Regions from separate parts of the Homo sapiens genome. Here all the other regions are linked to region 3. Evidence: promoter capture Hi-C in 16 types of primary human blood cells and fetal thymus (Javierre and others, 2016). All regions are on one chromosome and are shown on one strand. The core of a region is centred on a gene start or on the middle of the fragment in contact, and the rest is flanking DNA. Distances in the headings are between cores, read along the strand shown. Region 1 overlaps PPP1R13B (protein phosphatase 1 regulatory subunit 13B). Region 2 overlaps PPP1R13B (protein phosphatase 1 regulatory subunit 13B). Region 3 holds the start of RD3L (RD3 like). Region 4 overlaps PPP1R13B (protein phosphatase 1 regulatory subunit 13B).

Region 1 (4,852 bases), core at 2,040-4,539, 150 kb after region 3:
CGACAGAGCAAGACTCCATCTCAAAAAAAAAAAAAAAAAGAGATTATTATATTTAATGTACTTGAATATCAGTCTTTTTAAAAATAGTGTCTGATTTTTGAGTCATAGTTTGAAACAGCACCTTTATTCCAAAGCTATAAAAGGGAATATACCCAGGTTTTATTCTGGACTTTTTATGGCTTTAGGGTTTGTATCTAAATATTTGATCTATTAGGAACTTCTGCTAGTGTACGATATATGGTATGAAACCATTTTTTCCACATGGATATATTTTGCTCAAACATCACTCATTGTATAGTCGTTTTCCCTCCTTGATTTTTGAGATACCTCCCTCATCATTTGCCATTTTTTTCATAGGTAATTGGGTCTATTTCTGGGGTATGACTTTGCCCCATTGATCTATATATATATCTACTGCTGTCATGTTGTTTTGAGCACTTTATAAGATAGTGCTCTTTCTTTTCTATTACTCTCCTCATTTGGAATTTTCCTGACTTGTCTTTTTCATCTTTCTACATGAACTTTAGAATCAGCTTATCTATTATTATTTCCAGAAAATAATTCTGTAGGCATTTTGGGGGCGGGGGGTGGGTAGAGGGATCACTTTAAATTTACAGATTAATCTGTTTGTGATAAGGAATCTAAATTACAGCTTTACTCTTTTGTCTTACAGATGATATTAACTGTTTTCTTGAGCAACAATGAACAGATTTTAACAGAAGTTCCTATAACACCGGAAACAACCTGTCGAGATGTTGTAGAATTTTGCAAGGAACCTGGAGAAGGCAGCTGCCATTTAGCTGAAGTGTGGAGGGGAAATGGTATGTATTAGGTCCTGTAAAGATTGTTACATTGATAAAATCAAATCACCATCTTTTAGCTAAGCTTGTGCTGGATTTGCTTTTTTTCTGATAAAGATGGGGAAAAAAAGTAACTAAGTACATATAATTTAGTATTTATCAAATGGAAAATATTGCTTGTAGTTCTTAGTTATCTGTGGTAATAAAGAACTGAGTAATTAAAATAAATGTAATTATATTGCACAGGACTGAGTTTTACAAAATGCTTTTTTGTATACTTTTTTTTTTTTTTTTGAGACAGTATCTCACTCTGTCTCCCAGGCCAGAGTGATAGATGTTTGGGCTGTCTCTCTTTTTTTTTTTTTTGGCTATTATGAATAATGCTCCTATGAACTTTCATGTACAAACTGTTTTTGTTTTTGTTTTTTGTTTTCTGACATGGAGTCTTGGTCTCTCCCACAGGCTGGAGTGCAGTGGCATGCTCTTGGTTCACTGCAACCTCCGCCTCCTGGGTTCAAACGATTCTTGTGCCTCCGCCTCCCAGTAGCTGGGGCTATAGGCGCGCACCACCACGCCTGGCTAATTTTTTGTATTTTTAGTAGAATCGGGGTTTCACCATGTTGCCCAGGCTGGTCTTGAACTCCTGAGCTCAGGCAATCCACCCACCATGGCCTCCCAAAGTGCTTGGATTACAGGCATGAGCCACCGCACCTGACAATGTACAAGTTTTTGTGTGGACATATATTTTCATATCTCTTAGTAGTATAAACCTAGGAATCTCTGGGTCATATGGTAATTCGTGTTTAACCTTTTCAAGAACCACCAGACTGTTTTCTAATGCAATTGCTTCATTTTACATTCCCTGCAGCAGTATACGAAGTATACGATGTGGAGAATTTCTGCACATTCTCATCAACACTTGATACTGTCTGCTTGAGTTTAGCCATCCTAGTAGTTGTGAAGATATGTCTTATTGTGATTGTGATTTGCATTTCCCTAATGACTAATGATGGTGAAAATCTTTTCATGTGTATATTGGCCATTTTTATATCTTCTCTGGAGAAATGTCTATTCAGTTCCTTTGCCTATTTATTTATTTATTTATTTTTGAGACAGTGTCTTTCTCTGTTGCCCAGGCTGGAGAACAGTGGCACAATCCTGGCTCACTGCAACCTCTATCTTCTGGGCTCAAGCAGTGCTCCCACCTCAGCCTCTCGTGTAGCTGGGACTACAGGCATGCACCACCATGCCCGGCTAATTTTTGTAGAAACAGGGTTTTGCCATGTTGCCCAGGGTGGTCTCAAACTCCTGGGCTCAAGTGATCCACCTGCCTGGGCCTCCCAAAGTGCTGGGATTACAGGTGTGAACCACTGCACCCCACCCCATTGCCCATTTTAAAAATGGGTTATTTGTCTTTTTGTTACTGAATTGTAAAAGTTCTTTATGTATTCTAGATACAAGTCCCTTGTGGGTATATAAATTACAATTTTTTTGCAAGGTCTTGTGCTTTTTACTTAGAATTCAGAGTAAAGAATTTTAAGGATACATGGAGAGAAACTTGACTTTGATAAACATTGGACTATTACTAAATTAGAAGTAAAAGGACAGGCCCTCAATTGTTAGCCTAATGACAGCTACAGGAAGCAGGCAGTTAAGTAATTGTAATTAACGTTTTTAAGGGGAGCAGTGTTAGAGCCTGATCATTCATTCCCTTGTTTTTTTTCTTCTCTAGCCTCTTAGCACTTTTGTTCTCTGTTACTTGTTATCAATTCTAATTCCTCATCTGCCTTCCCATTGTAAGGGAATAAAATTTTTACACGAGTATTATAGCCCTAAATGGTCTATGGCCTCTTGAGAATGCTTGTCTCTCTCATACGAGTCACTCGGTTGGTGCCATCCTTGTCTCCCAGCCCATCTCAAATCATAACTTAGTTTTACCTCCTCAAGGATGAGGACTACCACCCTGGAGCACAGAGTCACAGCACAGTACATTTACCGTGGCTTTTGTACATGCTCCTTCGTTGTCTAGAACAATCCCTAGGAGCTTGGCTAACATCTATTTATTCTTTGCCTCTCATCCCTTCCGTGAATCTCAAAGGGTGTTAGTGTCCCTGTGCTCTAATACTGTCGTTGTATTTATCAAAACATGATACAGGTCGGGCACGGTGGCTCTTGCCTCTAATCCCAGCCCTTTAGGAGGCCAAGGCGGGTGGATCACTTGAAGCCAGGAGTTGGAGACCAGCCTGGCCAGCACGTCAAAACCCCATCTCTACTAAAAATACAAAAATTAGCCAGGCATGGTGGCACACGCCTATAGTCCCAGCTTCTTGGGAGGCAGGAGAATCCCTTGAAACCCGGAGGCGGAGGTTGCAGTGAGCCAAGAGTGTGCCACTGCACTCCAGCCTGGGCGACAGAGCGAGACTGTCTCAAAAAAAAACAAACAAACATAATGTAGTAGTAGTTTTTATCTCTATCTTGTTGGACTAAAATTCCTGAAGGCGGGAACTTGTCTGTTGTTCACCATTATATCCCCAGTGTCCAGCCTAGTGTTCATAGAAGGCACTTAGTAAACACAGATTAGTAAGTAAAATGGCCAACGAAGCTGGATCTAGGAAGAAGAGAAGGTAACTTCCAGTGGATGCCATCAAAGGGAGAGGGCAAGCACTGTAACAGCCTTTCTCAGTCCTTTTACCTAGAGGAACCCTTACAGAGATTTTTTTTTTTTTAGGTTTCAGAGAACCCTCACATAAAACTTACTGCACCTGGCCGGGCACTGTGGCTCACTCTTGTAATCTCAACACTTTGGGAGGCCGAGGTGGGTGGATCACCTGAGGTCAGGAGTTTGAGACCAGCCTGGCCAACATGGTGAAACCCTGTCTCTACTAAAAAAACAAAAAATTAGCTGGGCATGGTGGTGGGCACCTGTAATCCCTGCTACTCGGGAGGCTGAGGCAGGAGAATCGCTTGAACCTGGGAGGCGGAGGTTGCAGTGAGCCGAGATTGTGCCACTGCACTCCAGCCTGGGCAACAAGAGTGAAACTTCATCTCAAAAAAAAAAAAAAACAAAAAACAAATTACTGCCCCCATAACTGCTGACATTAGTATGATCAGTATGTCGTAGATAGAATCCTTCAATAGTAATTATCAGTGCTTTCCAGTAGAGCCGTTTCACTGTGGATCTGTGCATTATTTTGCTGAGGCTGCCGTAACAAAGTGCCACAGACTGGGTGGCTTAAACAACAGTAATTTATTTTCTCACAGTGATGGAGGCCAGAAGTCTGAGATGAAGGTGTCAGCAGGCTTGGTTTATTCTGAAGACTCTCTCTCTCTTTGACTTGTAGATGGTTTTCTTTTCTTCCCTCCATGCCTGTCTGTGGACAAACCTCCCCCTCTTGTAAGGACACTAGTCATATTGGATTAGGGGCCACTTTGATCTCTTCATTTTATCTTCTTGCCTCTTTAAAAGTCCTGTCTCCAAATACAGTTAAATTTCGAGGTACTTGAGGTCAGGACTACAACAGATGAATTTAGCGGGGACACAGTTCAGCCTGTAACAGTCTGTTAATTTGGCCAGGTCATTAGCTACTCTGTGTGGTTCCCTTCCCCACACAGGTGTCAGTTCTAATGGCAGTCAGTAAGGTAGATAAAACCTTCCATTTTTATCTTTTGTTAAGTTTCCTACTTGAGGTTTTTTAACCTTATTTAAAGTTCCTAAAAGTCTTATAATAGATTTCCATTATACAAGATGCTAATTAGGTATATTTTATATTACATGATATGTATAGGGTAGTTAGTCCATTTTCATACTGCTATAAAGAACTGCCAGAGATGGAATGATTTATAAAGGAAAAAGGTTTAATTTACTCACAGTTCTGCAAGGCTGGGGAGGCCTCAGGAAACTTACAATCATGACAGAAGGTGAAGGGAAAGCAAGGCAGCTCCTCCACAAGGTGGCAGGAAGGAGAAATGTCAAGTGAAGGGGGAAGAGCCCCTTCTAAAACCATCAGTTTTCATGAGAACTCACTCACTATCATGAGAAACCACCTCCATGA
Region 2 (4,784 bases), core at 2,017-4,516, 130 kb after region 3:
TAGTAGAGACAGGGTTTCACTGTGTTAGCCAGGATGGTCTCGATCTCCTGACCTCGTGATCCGCCCACCTTGGCTTCCCAAAGTGCTGGGATTACAGGCGTGAGCCACCGCGCCCCGCCGCCGGTTTTTGTTTTTTTTTAAATAGTGATGTGGTCTCGTCAAGTTGCTTAGGCTCATCTCTTAACTCCTACCCTCAAGTGATCCTTTTGCCTCAGCCTCCTAAAGTCTTGGGATTATAAGTGTGAGCCACGGGGCTCAGCCCATTGAAACTTTTACTGCCTTATCTTTTTTATTTTGAAGCATTTTAGAGTAGTGGTTTAAAGCTTAAGCTTTGGAGTCACACAGGCCAGGGTTAAATCCTGACTCTAGTATTTATTAGTTCAGCAGACTTGGGACAAATTATTATTTTATTTATTTATTTATTCATTTATTTTGAGACGGAGTCTTGCTCTGTCGCCCAGGCTGGAGTGCAGTGGGGCAATCTCGGCTCACTGCAAGCTCGGCCTCCCAGGTTCATGGCATTCTCCTGCCTCAGCCTCCCAAGTAGCTGGGATTATAGGCATGTGCCACCATGCCCGGCTAATATTTGTATTTTTAGTAGAGACGGGGTTTCACCATGTTGGCCAGGCTGGTCGTGAACTCCAGACCTCAGGTGATCCATCCGCCTTGGCCTCCCAAAGTGCTGGATTACAGGTGTGAGCCACCACGCCCATCTGGGACAAATTATTTAACCTCTCTGACCCTCTTTTTCCTAATCTGTAAAGTGAAGAGTAGTACCTATATCACAAAGATGGTATGACAATTGAGAATGTGTAAAGTCCATACTATAATGAGTAATAATAAGTACCAATAAATGATAATGGAAATGTTTTTTCCCTAGTGCAGTGACTTTTCATTTAGTTTTATGGAAGTCCTGGTAGGTTTCATGAGGCCCTCAGAGTAGTATCTTTCAAACTTTTCTGACCATGAACCCACACTAAGAAATACCTTTTACAAGGTGACTCAGTTCTTACCTAAATACTCAGACACGTATCTATACGTGTCAAAATGTCAGGAGAAAACACCCTATGTTACTCTTCTCTTACCCTGCTATAAAGAACTACCGGAGACTGGGTAATTTATAAAGGAAAGAGATTTAATGTACTCACAGTTCTGCGTGCCTGGGAGACCTCAGGAACTTACAATCATGGCGGAAGGCACCTCTTCACAGGCTGACAGGAGAGAGAACGAATGCCAGCAGGGGAAATTCCAGATGCTTATAAAACCATCAGATCTCGTGAGACTCACGCATTATCACGAGAACAAAATGGGAGAAACCGCCCCATGATCCAATTATGTCCACCTGGTTCTCCCCTTGACACATGGGTATTACAATTCAAGATGAGCTTTTGGGTGGGGCACAGCCAAACCATATCTTACCCTTTCCATGGGCAGTGTACTGTCTTATTTTTTATAGAAGTTTTAGATATACAGAAAGATGGAGCAGAAAGTACGGTGGGGACGTGAAAGTACAGTGGGGACTCTCTTCTGGATTTGTGCTTTTTTTTTTTAACATTGCTGAATAACTGAATAATATTCCAGCAGTATTATGTACCACAGTTTGTTTATCCATTCATCTACTGAAGGACATCTTGGTTGCTTCCAAGTTTTGGCAATTATGAACAAAGCTGCCATAAACATTCACATGCAGGTTTTTGTCTGGACACATTTTCAACTCCTTTGGGTAAAGACCAAGTGGTGGGATTGCTGGATCACATGGTAAAAGTATGCTTAGTTTTTTAAGAAGCCACCAAACTGTCTTCCAACATGGCTGTACCATTTTGTATTCCCAACTGCAAGTTCCTTTTGCTCCGCATCCTCACCAGTGTTAGGTGTTGTCGATGCTTTGGATTTGGGCCATTCTAGTAGGTGTGTAGTAGTATTTCACTGTTGTTTTATTAATAATTTGCAATTCCCAAATGACCTATGATACGGAACATGTTTTTCATATGTTTATTTTTCCATTTGTATGTCATCTTTGGTGAAGTATCTGTTCAGATCATTTGCCCATTAAAAATTAGGTTGTTTTGGCCAGGTGCGGTGGCTCACGCGTGTAATCCTAGCACCTTGGCTGAGGCAGGGGGATCATTTGAGGTCAGGAGTTCGAGACCAGCCTGGCCAACATGGTGAAACACCATCTCTACTAATGATACAAAAATTGGCTGGGCCTGATGGCAGGCACCCCAATCCCCGCTACTCAGGAAGCTGAGTCACGAGAATCGCTCGAACCCAGGAGGCAGAGGTTGCAGTGAGCTGAGCTTGTGCCACGGCACTCCAGACTGGGCGACAGAGTGAAACTGTGTCTCAAAAACACAGAAACAGCCACACGCGGTGGCTCACGCCTGTAATCCCAGCACTTTGGGAGGCCGAGGTGGGCGGATCACAATGTAAGGAGTTCGAGACCAGCCTGGCCAATATGGTGAAACCCCATCTCTACTAAAAATATACAAAAATTAGCTGAGTGTGGGGGCAGGCACCTGTAGTCCCAGCTACTCGGGAGGCTGAGGCGGGAGAATCGCTTGAACCCAGGAGGCAGAGGTCACAGTGAGCTGAGATTGCGCCACTGCATTCCAGCCTGGGTGACAGAGACTGTCTAGAAAAAAAAAAAAAAAAAAACCACACACAGAAACAAAAACATTAGCTTGTTTTATGATTATTGAGGTTTTTTTTTTTTTTTTTTTTTTGAGGGGGAGTCTGGCTCTGTCGCCCAGGGTGGAGTGTAGTGGCTCAATCTCAGCTCACCGCAAGCTCCGCCTCCCAGGTTCACGCCATTCTCCCACCTCAGCCTCCCAAGTAGCTGGGACTATAGGCGCCCACCACCACACCCGGCTAATGCTGTTTTTGTATTTTTAGTAGAGACGGGGTTTCACCATGTTAGCCAGGATGATCTTGATCTCCTGACCTCATGATCTGCCAGCCTTGGCCTCCCAAAGTGCTGGGATTACAGGTGTGAGCCACTGCGCCCGGCCTGGGTGACAGAGCGAGACTCCATCTCAAAAAAGAAAAAAGAGTTATTTGTGTATTTAGGATACAAGTCCTTTATGTATTTATTTATTTAGTGACGGTCTCACTCTTGTGCCCAGGCTGGAGTGCAGTGGCACAGTCATAGCTCACTGCAGCCTCGACCTTCTGGGCTCAAGCAATCCTCCTACCTCAGCCTCCCAAGAAGCTGGGACTACAGGCCTGCACTACTACACCTGGCTACTTTTTGTGTTTTTTGTAGAGATGGGGTCTCCCTATGTTGTTCAGACTGTTCTCGAACTCTTGGGCTCAAGTGATCCACCCATCTTAGCCTCCCAAAATGCTGGGATTACAGACATCCCGAAGTGCTGGGATTATAGGTGTGAACCACCACACCTGGCCAAGTCCTTTATCAAATATGTACTTTGCAGATATTTTCTCCCAGTCTGTGGCTTGTCTTTTCATTCTCTTAATAACTGTTATATATTGTTCTGTTCTAGTTCATTAAAAAACAAAACTGGTCCTGAGGCACTAATTGATTTTAGAGCCCACTAAGAGGTCATAGTCTGTGGTTTAAAATTCAGTGTTTGTTCTGCTTCCATAATATTCACGTGATCAACATTAGTAAAGCAACCATTATTTCAAGCAGTAATTTTCTTTGTCTTTTTTTTTTTTTTTTTTTTTTTTTGAGGAGGAGTCTCACGCTGTCCTCTAGGCTGGAGTGCAGTGTGGCATAATCTCAGCTTACTGCAACCTCTGCCTCCCGGGTTTAAGCAATTCTCCTGCTTCAGCCTCCTGAGTTAGGTGGAATTACAGGCACGCACTGCCATGCCCGGCTAATTTTTTTTTTTTTTTTAGTAGAGACGGGGCTTCACCATGTTGCCCAGGCTGGTCTTGAACTCCTGACCTCAAGTGATCCACCGGGCTCAGCTTCCCAAAGTGCTGGGATTACAAGCACGAGCCACCACACCTAGCCTCAAGCAGTCACTTTCAATTTTTTTTTTTCTTTTTTGAGATGGAGTCTCGCTCTGTCATCCAGGCTGGAGTGCAGTGGTGCGATCTCGGCTCACTGCAAGCGCCACCTCCCGGGTCACGCCATACTCCTGCCTCAGCCTCCCGAGTAGCTGGGACTACAGGCGCCCACCACCACGCCCAGCTAATGTTTTGTATTTTTAGTAGAGACGAGTTTCACTGTGTTAGCCAGGATGGTCTTAATCTCCTGACCTCATGATCCGCCTGCCTTGGCCTCCCAAAGTGCTGGGATTACAGGCATGAGCCACCACGCCCAGCCAAAGTAATTTTCAATATTGATGAACAGTGGTGTCAGAATTGATACTGTTCTTTATTCTAGAGTATTATTTTCTAATTTTAATTTTTTATTATTTTTGAGAGGAAGTCTCACTCTGTCACTTGGCTCACTGCAACCTCTGCCTCCTGGGTTCAAACGATTCTCCTGTCTCAGCCTCCTGAGTAGCCGGGATTATAGGCATGTGCCACCACGTCGGGCTAATTTTTGTATTTTTGGTAGAGATGGGGTTTCACCATGTTGGCCAGGCTGGTTTCGAACTTCAGACCTCATGATCCACCTGCCTCAGCCTCCGAAAGTGCTGGGATTAAAGGCATGAGCCTCCACGCCTGGCCTTTTTAAAATTTTGAGACAGCTGGGCGCGGTGGCTCACACTTGTAATTCCAGCACTTTGGGAGGCCAAGGCGGGCAGATCACAAGGTCAAGAGATCAAGACCATCTGGCCAACATGGTGAAACCCCGTCTCTACTAAAAATAC
Region 3 (5,177 bases), core at 2,383-4,882:
GACCCAGTCTCCACCAAACATTTAAAAATTAGTCAGGCATGGTGGCACGTGCCTATAGTCCCAGCTACTTGAGAGGCTGAGGTGGGAGAATCTCTTGAGCCCAGGAGGCTGAGGCTGCAGTGAGCTATGACCATGCCACTGTACTCTAGCCTAGGTGAGCAATACCTTGTCTCAAAAAAAGAAAAAAAAAAACAGAAAGATATGAGTCTTCCCACAATGAAAAATCCTTCTTTGATTGCAATCAAGTGCTGTTGAATACTATATAAAGCAGCCCTGATTGTAATATATAAAAAGTTATGTCTGGCTCCTTAGCTTGCTTTTCAAGGTTCCAAAATTTTGTCTTTCTAAACTTTTCTTTTTATGTACTTCCTTACAGATCTTAAAATTTTACATAGACACACATATATTATGCATGATACGGTCCTATTTCATTTTAAGTCTTATAAAATTTAATACTTAGCTAACAAGGTGTAAACTAGAAAACTATGACAATGACCAAAAAGCAAAGGACCTAACAGCTTAAGCTTTATGTCGTCCACACAAAATATCCTAGGAAGTTTGCAATTCATCAGAAACAATTCATTTTTTCAACTCATTATAATGTAAGATAAATACAATCCAAGATACTTCCTTACCTTTGCTTACAAATATTTATGTTCTCTATCTACACAGCAGTAGAAGAAATACTGTAATCAGAGAATTATTTGGGTCTCTACTTCAATCTGATAATCTCAGGAGACAGGACAAAATAAAATCTGTAAGGCAAGTAGCACACACTAAGTACTAGAAAAATTGGTTTACACAATTAACTTCAAAGGAAGGTATACTCAATGTGAGTTAAGGTGGTAAGAAAAGTTCTGAAAAGGTCTTTGGTAATGGTTTCAATGGCAAGAAAGGTGTCAAACAAGTAAGTGGAGAAGGAAGATTGCCTTCAAGAAGCTCTTCCAGTGGCTAGCTCATTGATCTCTAAATCTCTGTTAAAAGGATACCTCCTACCCAAAAAGGTCTTCTCTGACCTCCAGTTCTAAGTGGGAGAAGTGTTCCAAGTATATTAATAGATTATGACCATCTATAATTACCTTACTGATTTGTGTACTTATATTTGTCTTCACATTTGGAGGCTGGCTCCTTGGGAGTAGGAACTAGGTCTTTCTTGTTCACTGCTACACCCCAGCCCCTAACTATTCAGGCCCTGGCAGACAGTCAATAGATATCTGTTAAGTGACTGAAAGCCAGCAATTACAGTAGAGGACACAGCAGGATCTAATTGGAAAGCATTAGGAAAAAGGGAAAAGAAGCCGGGCACGGTGGCTCACGCCTGTAATCCCAGCACTTTGGGAGGCCAAGACGAACAGATCACTTGAAGTCAGGAGTTCAAGACCAGCTGGCCAACATGGCAAAACCCCATCTCTACTAAAAATACAAAAATTAGCTGAGTGTGGTGGTGCACGCCTGTAATCCCAGCTACGAGGGAGGCTGAGGCACAAGAATCACTTGAACTCAGGAGGCAGAGGTTGCAGTGAGCCAAGATCACGCCACTGCACTCCAGCCTGGGCGACAGAGCAAGACTCCATCTCAAAAAAAAAAGGGTGGGGGGCGGGGTGGAGAGAGAACAGAAACACAGACCAAACCAGTCTTTCTATAAGTTTAACAGTGAAGATAAATAAAATCAGAGTTCAAAGGAAAAGAAGGGCCAAGGAAGATGTTCACATTGACCCTCAGGTTGAAGGAAAAAATCAGTTGGTATTTGAGCTGGTCCATGAAAAAGAGAATTACTATGTGGATACATGAAAAACACAAAGAAGCAGCTTTTCAGAAGAGAAAAAACAGTTGAACCAAAGCTGAAGGATCAGAAGTAAGCATGGCAAGCGTCAGGGGGCAACGTGGCCTGGCTGAAACAAAAGGTGTGCTCTAGGGTCGAGCAAGAAAGCAAGCCAGGTAAGGAGGGATAACGTAAGACTGTAGAGGGCCTTGAAGGAGGGATAATGTGAGACTGCAGAGGGCCTTGAACAGAAATTTGGCTTAAGTTCCATATCCAATATGTTCTGATATTTTTGTTACCATTTCAGAGGAAAAAAATTTATGCAGTAACAAGGAGGTTATTCAAAGGAGTATGCGGCAAGATTCGCTGTAATTTTAGTATAAAATTTGGTAGGACACTTCTGTCATCATAAACTTTACTCCTTTCCTTCTCCTAACAGTATATGCAATGTCATGTGAAAACCTTCCAGTTGACAATAATCAGTCCTGACATCTGGCTTTTTCTAACATCTAAGCAACAGGAGCTGTAGGGTGGCCACACACGTCACTCTGGGTCATGCATGACATGCAAGTCTGATGTAAACAACGTCTACTCTTCATGGCTCACTTGAAAGGAAAAGCAACAGAAGAAACAAATACTATAAAAGGGAAAACCACTATGCAGTCGTTTCACAGAGAACTGGGGAGTAAAAGACCTTTTATACTATCTACTCTTTAGCAAAAGACAAACACTTGCATAGGAAATTAGCACAGGCCAGCGCAGTGGCTCATGCCTGTAATCCCAGCACTTTGGGAGGCTGAGGCAGGTGGATTACTTGAGCCCAGTTTACGGACCAGCCTGGGCAACACAGGGAGACCTTATTTCTACAAAAAAAAAAAAAAAAGAAATGTATGTGTGTGTGTATATATGTGTGTATTATATATGTGTGTATATTTATATATACATATATAATACATATACATATGCGTATATATACTTATGTGTATATATACATATATGTACATATATAAAATACATACACATATGTACATATATAAAACATATATGTATGTACATATGTGCGTGTGTATATATTTTTTTAAACTAGCCAGGCATGCCGTAGCATGCACCTGTGGTGGCATGCACCTATGGTCCTGGCTATTCAGGGGGCTGAGGTGGGAGGATCACTTGAGCCCAGGAGGTCGAGGCTACAGTGAGCCGTGATCATGCCACTGCACTACAGCCTGGGTGACACAACGTGACTCTGTCTCAAAAAAAAGAAAGAAAGAAAAAAGAAATAGCACAATAATGACCATTACAAACCAATATGCACCTAAATAGTAAATATAAGTTTTTCATCCTCAGCTCCAAAAAAAAAACACGAAAATGATTTTTCTACGATGAATTATAAGATTTTGTTTAGAATTTTGTATGTTCTTATGCCTCTATTTTTCCCTGACAACCAATTACTGCCTTATTACCATATTTTCAGAGATTATAAAGTATATTTTAAAGTTATCTAGCTGTTTATTATGTCCCCTAGCATTTCAACTTGCTTAAATATACAAATTTAACTATTTTGAAAAAACCAAAATGAATACAAAATGTAACATTTGCTAAATATTTCACAATTATAATTCACATCAGCATTCTTTACCTATTTCACTCAATTACAATGAGTTTTCTCAGAATGTATGTTTTGCAAATAGTCAAGTCTAATCTATTTTTCCTGTTTTCACTAGAGGGGACAGTGACCCGGCTTCCAAATGGCCTGAAAGTTAAGCTGAAGAATAAAAGCAACGTGGCTATTTTTAGAGCTCTACAGGCATAAAAATACAGCACTAAACTGTGACCTACAGCTATGCACAGCAAAGCATCACATCACGCGACAGTCTTCACTCTAGCTCGGAGCGCATCTATGGTGCTTTAGACGACCATTCTTCGTTTCACTACCAAAGACATGTCGGAATGCATTTAGGACCAGCATCTATAGCTGCTGGCATTTTTTTCAAATAGACTGAGCTACATTGAAAAGGCAGACCATTATATAACTTGTGAAGATTAAATAGTCAGTTATTTTTGTCATTTCTTCTAGCTTACTTACAAGGTGAATTAATGAGCATTCTCTCCAAATGAAGACATCACAGCCTCATTCCTAACACAGAAAGTTATTTATTTCAAATACAGTTTCGGTGGGTAAATAAGGTGGCGCATTCCTTCTACAGAGGACACACCTAGGAGAGCAAGATACGTCCCAGTGAAACACAGCTTCGTCACCAACTTCAGTCAACTCTTTGGCAACATCACATCAGCCCATCAACTTAACAGGTAAGCTTTAAACCTTTTCTGTCCAAAACATAAATCAAAAGTATCTGTAGGCAGCACTTGCCCCGACATTAATATTTTAAGTCTCTTAAGAACTTTTCACAGCAAGTGTTAGTGTTATTTTCGGATATCATTCAGTCTATATGTTATCTCTGACTTTGTATATCTAATTTCTGCTAAGCTACATAAAAGCATTTTCAAAGCTTGGTTTCTGCCACTGACCTAGTTAAAAATTAAGACGTTAATCCATGTTCTAATCTTATTTTGACCTGCATAGCTAAATGTGAAAAAAAATCGTGCACTTTTCGGGCAAATTTATTGTAAAGAAACAAATATTTGCTCAGAAGAACATAACATTTTGAGCAAATAAACAAGTGAAAATATTTCCATAGGCTAAAAATGCCACTTTTTGGCTGGATGAAATGGCCCAAAAACGATTCCTACAAACCCACACACTATCCTGGCTCAGACATAGTGACAAAGACTCTGCTTCGGGAATTAAAATGGCACCTAAAGGAGCGAGAGAGATTAATACAAGAAATCGAAAATGAACAAAAAGTGAAAAAAACAGGTGTGGATTACAACTGGCTCAGAAACTACCAGAATCCCCACACAACTATCCCAGTGACTGAACAAAGACAACTTGAAGTTCTTTGCTCACAAGTTCAACCTTGCCAAACTGGAACTATTCTCAGCAGGTAAAAATACTATGTTCTCTTATGATTCCTGCTACTGCTAAGTCCAAGTTCCTCATATATTTTGACTAGAAACTGTATTCTATCATGTAAATTCTTTAACTGTGTAGATGTCTGGTGAGCAATTGTTTTAAATTACATTTAAAATTTCTTTACTAGAAGCATAATTTTAAAACAACATGCAAAATACTCAAAAGGTGGGTAACTTGTATACATTATTCAAGCTGTATTTTGGAGATAAAGAGATATAACAAAAAATGTTCTAAACTGAATATTCATTACCATTTCCCCTCTAGATTTCGAGAAGTTTTGGCAGAAAATGATGTACTGCCATGGGAAATAGTCTACATCTTCAAGCAAGTTCTGAAAGACTTCCTAAGCAGCTCTGACAGAGGGAGTGAGCAAGAGGACCTGGA
Region 4 (5,134 bases), core at 2,613-5,112, 170 kb after region 3:
AGGCGCACAGATCACGAGGTCAGGAGTTGAGACCAGCTTGGCCAATCTGGTGAAACCCCGTCTCTACAAAAAAATACAAAAATTAGCCAGGCATGGTGGCATGCGCCTGTAGTCCCAGCTACTCGGGAGGCTGAGGCAGGAGAATTGCTGGAACCCGGGAGGCAGAGGTTGCAGTGAGCCAAGATCGCACCACTGTACTCCAGCTTGGGCAATAGAGACTCCGTGTCAAAAAAAAAAAAAAAAAAAAGTCAGATGTGGCCAGGCGTGGTGGCTCATGCCTGTAAATCCCAGCATTTTGGGAGGCCGAGGCGGGCAGATCCCCTGAGGTCAGGAGTTCAAGACCAGGCTGGCCAATATGGTGAAACCCTGTTTCTACTAAAAATACAAAAAAATTAGCTGGGCGTGGTGGTGGGCGCCTGTAATCCCAGCTACTCAGGAGGCTGAGGCAGGAGAATCGCTTGAACCCAGGAGGCAGAGGTTGGAGTGAGCCAAGATCGCACCATTGCACTCCAGCCTGGGCAACGAGCGAAATTCCATCTCAAAAAAAAAAAAGTCAGATGTGGTAGCATCTGCCTGTAGTCCCAGCTACTCAGGAGGCTGAGGCGGGATGATGACTTGAGCCCAGGAGTTTGAGGCTGCCATGAGTCATGATTATACCACTGCACTTCAGCCTTGTCAACAGAGTAAGACCCTGTTTTTTTTTTTTTTTTAATTGCTTTTTACCGGTAGTAATGAGTTTGGGTGATAACTTATTTTTAAATAATTATTTTGGGGGTAGATATTGTCATTTCTATTGAATATTTCAAAATATTATATGAAATTATAAAGCAGCAGTCACTGAGTGGTGTTACCTATTCACATAATGGTCCATGAATCAGATCATGTCTCCTTTGGAGCAGCCCTCCACCTGCCCTTCACATGCTGCTGCCATGTCCTCTCCTGGAGCAGGCAGTGGGTGCCTCTGTGCACGTAAACACAGCATCTCTGTGGCGGCAGATGGGCTATGGGCTTAGCTTGTAGACTAAGAGTTGAGTAGGCTGACTTGCTTTGCATCTTCAGTGTTGGTTCTGGATCCTCTGTCAGGTTTTGACAGACACAATGGATGGTGGGCTGCAGTGTCTTCCTCCATCATTGTGGTATAGACTTGGAGAATAGATGGAATGCTTATCATAGGTGAGGGGAGCTGTGGAGGAGCTCTTTGTAAGAAATGTTGGTGTTGGCTGGGCGTGGTGGCTCACACCTGTAATCCTGGCACTTTGGGAGGCCAAGGTCGGTGGATCACCTGAGGTCAGGAGTTCGAGACCAGTCTGACCAATATGGTGAAACCCTATCTCTACTAAAAATACAAAAATTAGCTGGTCGTGGTGGCATGCGCCTGTAGTCCCAGCTACTCAGGAGGCTGAGACAGGAGAATCACATGAACCCAGGAGGCAGAGGTTGCAATGAGCCGAGATCGTGCCACTGCACTCCAGCCTGGGCAAGAGAGTGAGACTCCATCTCAAAAAAAGCCGAAATGTTGGTGTATGTTGAAAGAATGAACCAAATAGGGACATTTTTAATGTGGTCTTTTCTGAAAATTTGAAGATAACTGTAACAAGTAATTTTAAGACTAGAGATTGAGTTTCTTTTTTTTTTTTTTGAGGCAGAGTCTCACTCTGTCGCCCAGGCTGGAGTGCAGTGGCCTGATCTGGGCTCACTGCAAGCTCCGCCTCCCGGATTCAAGCCATTCTCCTGCCTCAGCCTCCCCAGCAGCTGGGACTACAGGCGCACACCGCCACGCCCGGCTAATTTTTTGTATTTTTAATAGAGATGGGGTTTCACCGTGTTAGCCAAGATGGTCTCAATCTCCTGACCTTGTGATCCGCCCACCTTGGCCTCCCAAAGTTCTGGGATTACAGGCGTGAGCCATCGCGCCCAGCCTGATTGAGTTTCTTTTTCTGGCTGTAACACTAACTAGGCATCTAAGCTTAGGCAAGTTCCTTCCTCACACAGGGCTGGGCATGGTGAGATACTGGTAAAGTGCATGGAATCTAGAGTGTGACTGGCCCATGTTTAGCCCACTGGCCTCGGAGCTTTCTAATGAGCTGAATTTGAGCAAGTTATTTCACCTCTCTACTTCCCAACTTATTATTGAATTGCTAGTTCTTTTATTGGCTATATTTGTGACCCTACCTCATATACTTAAATCTCTGTTTATTTGTACTATCAACTTTAAACAGTATCTCTGGACCTTGCTCTTTGTAAAATGATAATATTAGGCCCCTGCCATCTTTCCTTCCTTCCTTCCTTCCTTCCTTCCTTCCTTCCTTCCTTCCTTCCTTCCTCCCTCCCTCCCTCCCTCCTTCCCTTCCTCCCTTCCTTCCTTCCTTCCAGCTCTTGCAGCTGTACCAGACTTTCATGTTGTAAAGGTTGACAATATTTGTATATTGTTATCTAACTATAAACCTTTTTTGCTTTGTCTGTAGATTGGTTATAAAGTTGAAAACCATTTAGCAGTTTCATTATTTTAGATTTTGCAGGTATTATCCACTGCAGAGCCATGTGGTATACTAGATTATATTTTCTTCTCTTTGGTTTCAATATCATAATCCTTCTGCCACTCAGGGAGAAATATTCCTGTTGTTAAGATTATAGATTCTCCCTCTTCACATTCCTGCCTTCTGTCATTGGAGTAGAGATTTGTCCACTGCAAATCAAGAGCCTCTACAGAGTTCTTCCAGGCGGATCTGCTTCAGGACGTCTTAAGAAATAGACGCACACACACCACTGGTAGAAATTTTCATTCAGTAAATCTGGAGTGGGGCCTAGAAAACTCCCCATGTGACTATGTTGCCATGCCAAGCTTGGGAACATCCAGGTTACACTTTAGCAAGCATTTATAGCTTGTTTGTCCAACAGAATGTTGAAGATCTTTTTGAGTTCTAAGATTTACCATGGGACGGGCGCGGTGGCTAGCTCCTGTAATCCCAGCACTTTGGGAGGCCAAGGTAGGCGGATCACCTGAGGTCAGGAGTTCTAGACCAATCTGGCCAACATGGTGAAACCCTCTCTCTACTAAAGATACAAAAATTAGCTGGGCATGATGGCAGGTGCCTGTAATCCCAGCTGTTCTGGAGGCTGAGGCAGGAGAATCGCCTGAACCCAGGAGACAGAGGTTGCAGTGAGCTGAGATTGCACCACTGCGCTCCAGCCTGGGTGACAGAGCGAGACTCTGTCTCCAAAAAAAAAAAAATAATAATAATAATAAGTGAAAGAAAGAAAGGAAGAAAGAATTACCATGACCTGAACTTCAGGGAAGATTAAATAGATACATTGAGTAGGCCGTGTGTTGAAGAAGTGAGGTGTGTTGTATATGATATAATATATGGAAGAGACTCAAAAGGAAAGCATTCCAAATGTATGATAAATTGGGTAGACCAGTTTTGATGTGATGAGACCTTTTCCTTGATGAAGTTTTTTCTTGTTAATAAGGAGATAATGTGTATATTTCAAGATCAACAAAATTGAAACCTGAAACCAAAGTGAAAAATGTGTTTTTATCCTTTATGTGGCTTGTAATTAGAGGAAGGTATGAGAGCTCCTCTAGAGGAATAATTTAGGATTGGAAGCATCACATCAAAGATGTTACTGTATTTTATGGCTTACACATCTACCTTTTAAGCTTAATAATACGTTACCTTCTAAAACACTTTATTGTCTACAGAGCGGTTTTACGTGCATTTTAAGATATGAAAAACATCTTCCCCCAAAATGTTTCTGTGTATACCTTGGTTATAGAATAATGACATGCTAATAAGCCTTCTAACTTCTGGGCTGAGACATCTAAGGATAGATTAAGGAGAGCTGTGAAGAAAGGGGGGAGTGTGGGTTGGAAGAGAAGGGCAGGATGCTGAGTTGGTGTGATTGATGTCCATCAGCAGCTGCTGAACTAAGAAGCCGGGGAAGTTCTGCTCTCTGAAAATTGTAGGCCAGCAAGTCAGGTTAATACTACTGTGCTGGTTTGTCATTATGCTATAAAGGCAAATTGATTTGTTCTCATTATATATGCCTGTGTTGAAGCTTCCAAGATGTCCCCAGGTTCCGTGGTTTGCTAGGACCACTCAGGACTAAGCATAGAGTTCTCTTGAGTTGCTACAGTGAAAGGATTCAGAGCCAGATCAGCAAAGAGGAAAGACACATTCGACTTAGGTGTCCTGGAAGAACTTTTTCCTGTCTTCTCAGCCAAGCAGTTTTAAAATCTGAGTCAGTTTTTGCTTTATTCTAGGATATCCAGTAAGTTGCCAAGACCAATTGATCCTACCCTCCTGTGTTTTCTTCTAAGAGCTTTATAGTTTTAGCTCTTACATGTAGTTCTATGATCAATTTTAAGTTAATTTTTGTGTATAGTGTGAGTTAAAGGATTCAAATTAATTCTTTTCCATGTAAATATCCAGTTATCCCAGCACCATTTGGTGAAAAGACTATTCTCTCTCCCACTGAATTGCCTGACACCTTTGTCAGATCAATTGACCATAAATGTGATGTTTATTTCCAGAAGCATTCATTGCTAATGTAATCACCCAGGCACCGTTTTCCATATGGTGCCCAAGACTCAACTGTGCCTATCATCTCCTAGGCCAGATAACATTTCAACTGTCTAGAGAAAAACTTTTAGACTTATGCCAGGAGAGGATAGAGGCAGTCACCTAGGAGCATGGAGTTGGGGAGTAGATAGGGATTTAACTGCCTCTTAAATATTGTTCACTCAGTCTGCCTTATTTTCAGTCCCTACATTTTATTCCCCTTTCCAGAGGTACATGGTGTTGTCAGTTCCTGAAACTTTGAAGATTCTGTGCTGTAACTGGAGTGTTTATCCAGTTTTACTCCTTCTGGCTTGAGGTTTGTCTCAGATGTACTAGGTCAGTTATTTCTCGTCTGTTCTTTTGCCAACTTCCAAACATCTGTGTTGTGTGCACTGCTGTTAGTCCCGCTTTTGTGGTTTTATATTATTTGATGTAAAAATCCCTTTACTGTCAATTAGTGGAGTTTTGGGATTTAATGAAATTGGGATTAATCCTCCCTTGTGAGCAGAGCCAGGTGTGAATTTCTTTTAATTTCCCTATTGGGCTTTGTTGAATTTACTGATTCTGAGGAT

What was found. Contacts are between HindIII fragments. The CHiCAGO score rates a contact against its expected background, and 5 or more counts as called.
Region 1: a contact is called between a fragment that was not itself captured here and the fragment with the promoter of RD3L in region 3, in 1 of 17 cell types (M2 macrophages). The highest score is 5.3, in M2 macrophages.
Region 2: a fragment that was not itself captured here is called in contact with the fragment with the promoter of RD3L in region 3 in 4 of 17 cell types (M2 macrophages, M1 macrophages, M0 macrophages and 1 more); the score reaches 14.7 in M2 macrophages.
Region 4: a fragment that was not itself captured here is called in contact with the fragment with the promoter of RD3L in region 3 in 1 of 17 cell types (M2 macrophages); the score reaches 5.2 in M2 macrophages.

What each region holds. Positions count from the first base shown.
Region 1 is chr14:103,793,340-103,798,191 of GRCh38, reverse strand. PPP1R13B (protein phosphatase 1 regulatory subunit 13B) reads left to right here. Exons shown (of 17, transcript NM_015316.3): 2 at 674-821. LOC124900347 (small nucleolar RNA SNORD51) reads left to right here and starts at 844; the gene lies at 844-920. RefSeq lists enhancers at 2,543-3,042, 3,043-3,544. The HindIII fragment of the contact is 4,803 bases long and covers 888-4,852 here.
Region 2 is chr14:103,809,999-103,814,782 of GRCh38, reverse strand. All of the region lies in intron 1 of PPP1R13B (protein phosphatase 1 regulatory subunit 13B), which reads left to right. Among named protein-coding and RNA genes, the nearest start is that of PPP1R13B, 35 kb to the left of the region's middle. The HindIII fragment of the contact is 5,870 bases long and covers 332-4,784 here.
Region 3 is chr14:103,940,984-103,946,160 of GRCh38, reverse strand. RD3L (RD3 like) reads left to right here and starts at 3,632. Exons shown (of 3, transcript NM_001257268.2): 1 at 3,632-4,069; 2 at 4,459-4,764; 3 at 5,058-5,177. The coding sequence starts at 4,466. All of the region lies in intron 1 of TDRD9 (tudor domain containing 9), which reads right to left. The HindIII fragment of the contact is 3,550 bases long and covers 527-4,076 here.
Region 4 is chr14:103,773,377-103,778,510 of GRCh38, reverse strand. The region is part of intron 4 of PPP1R13B (protein phosphatase 1 regulatory subunit 13B); the gene reads left to right. Among named protein-coding and RNA genes, the nearest start is that of ZFYVE21, 60 kb to the right of the region's middle. The HindIII fragment of the contact is 398 bases long and covers 3,664-4,061 here.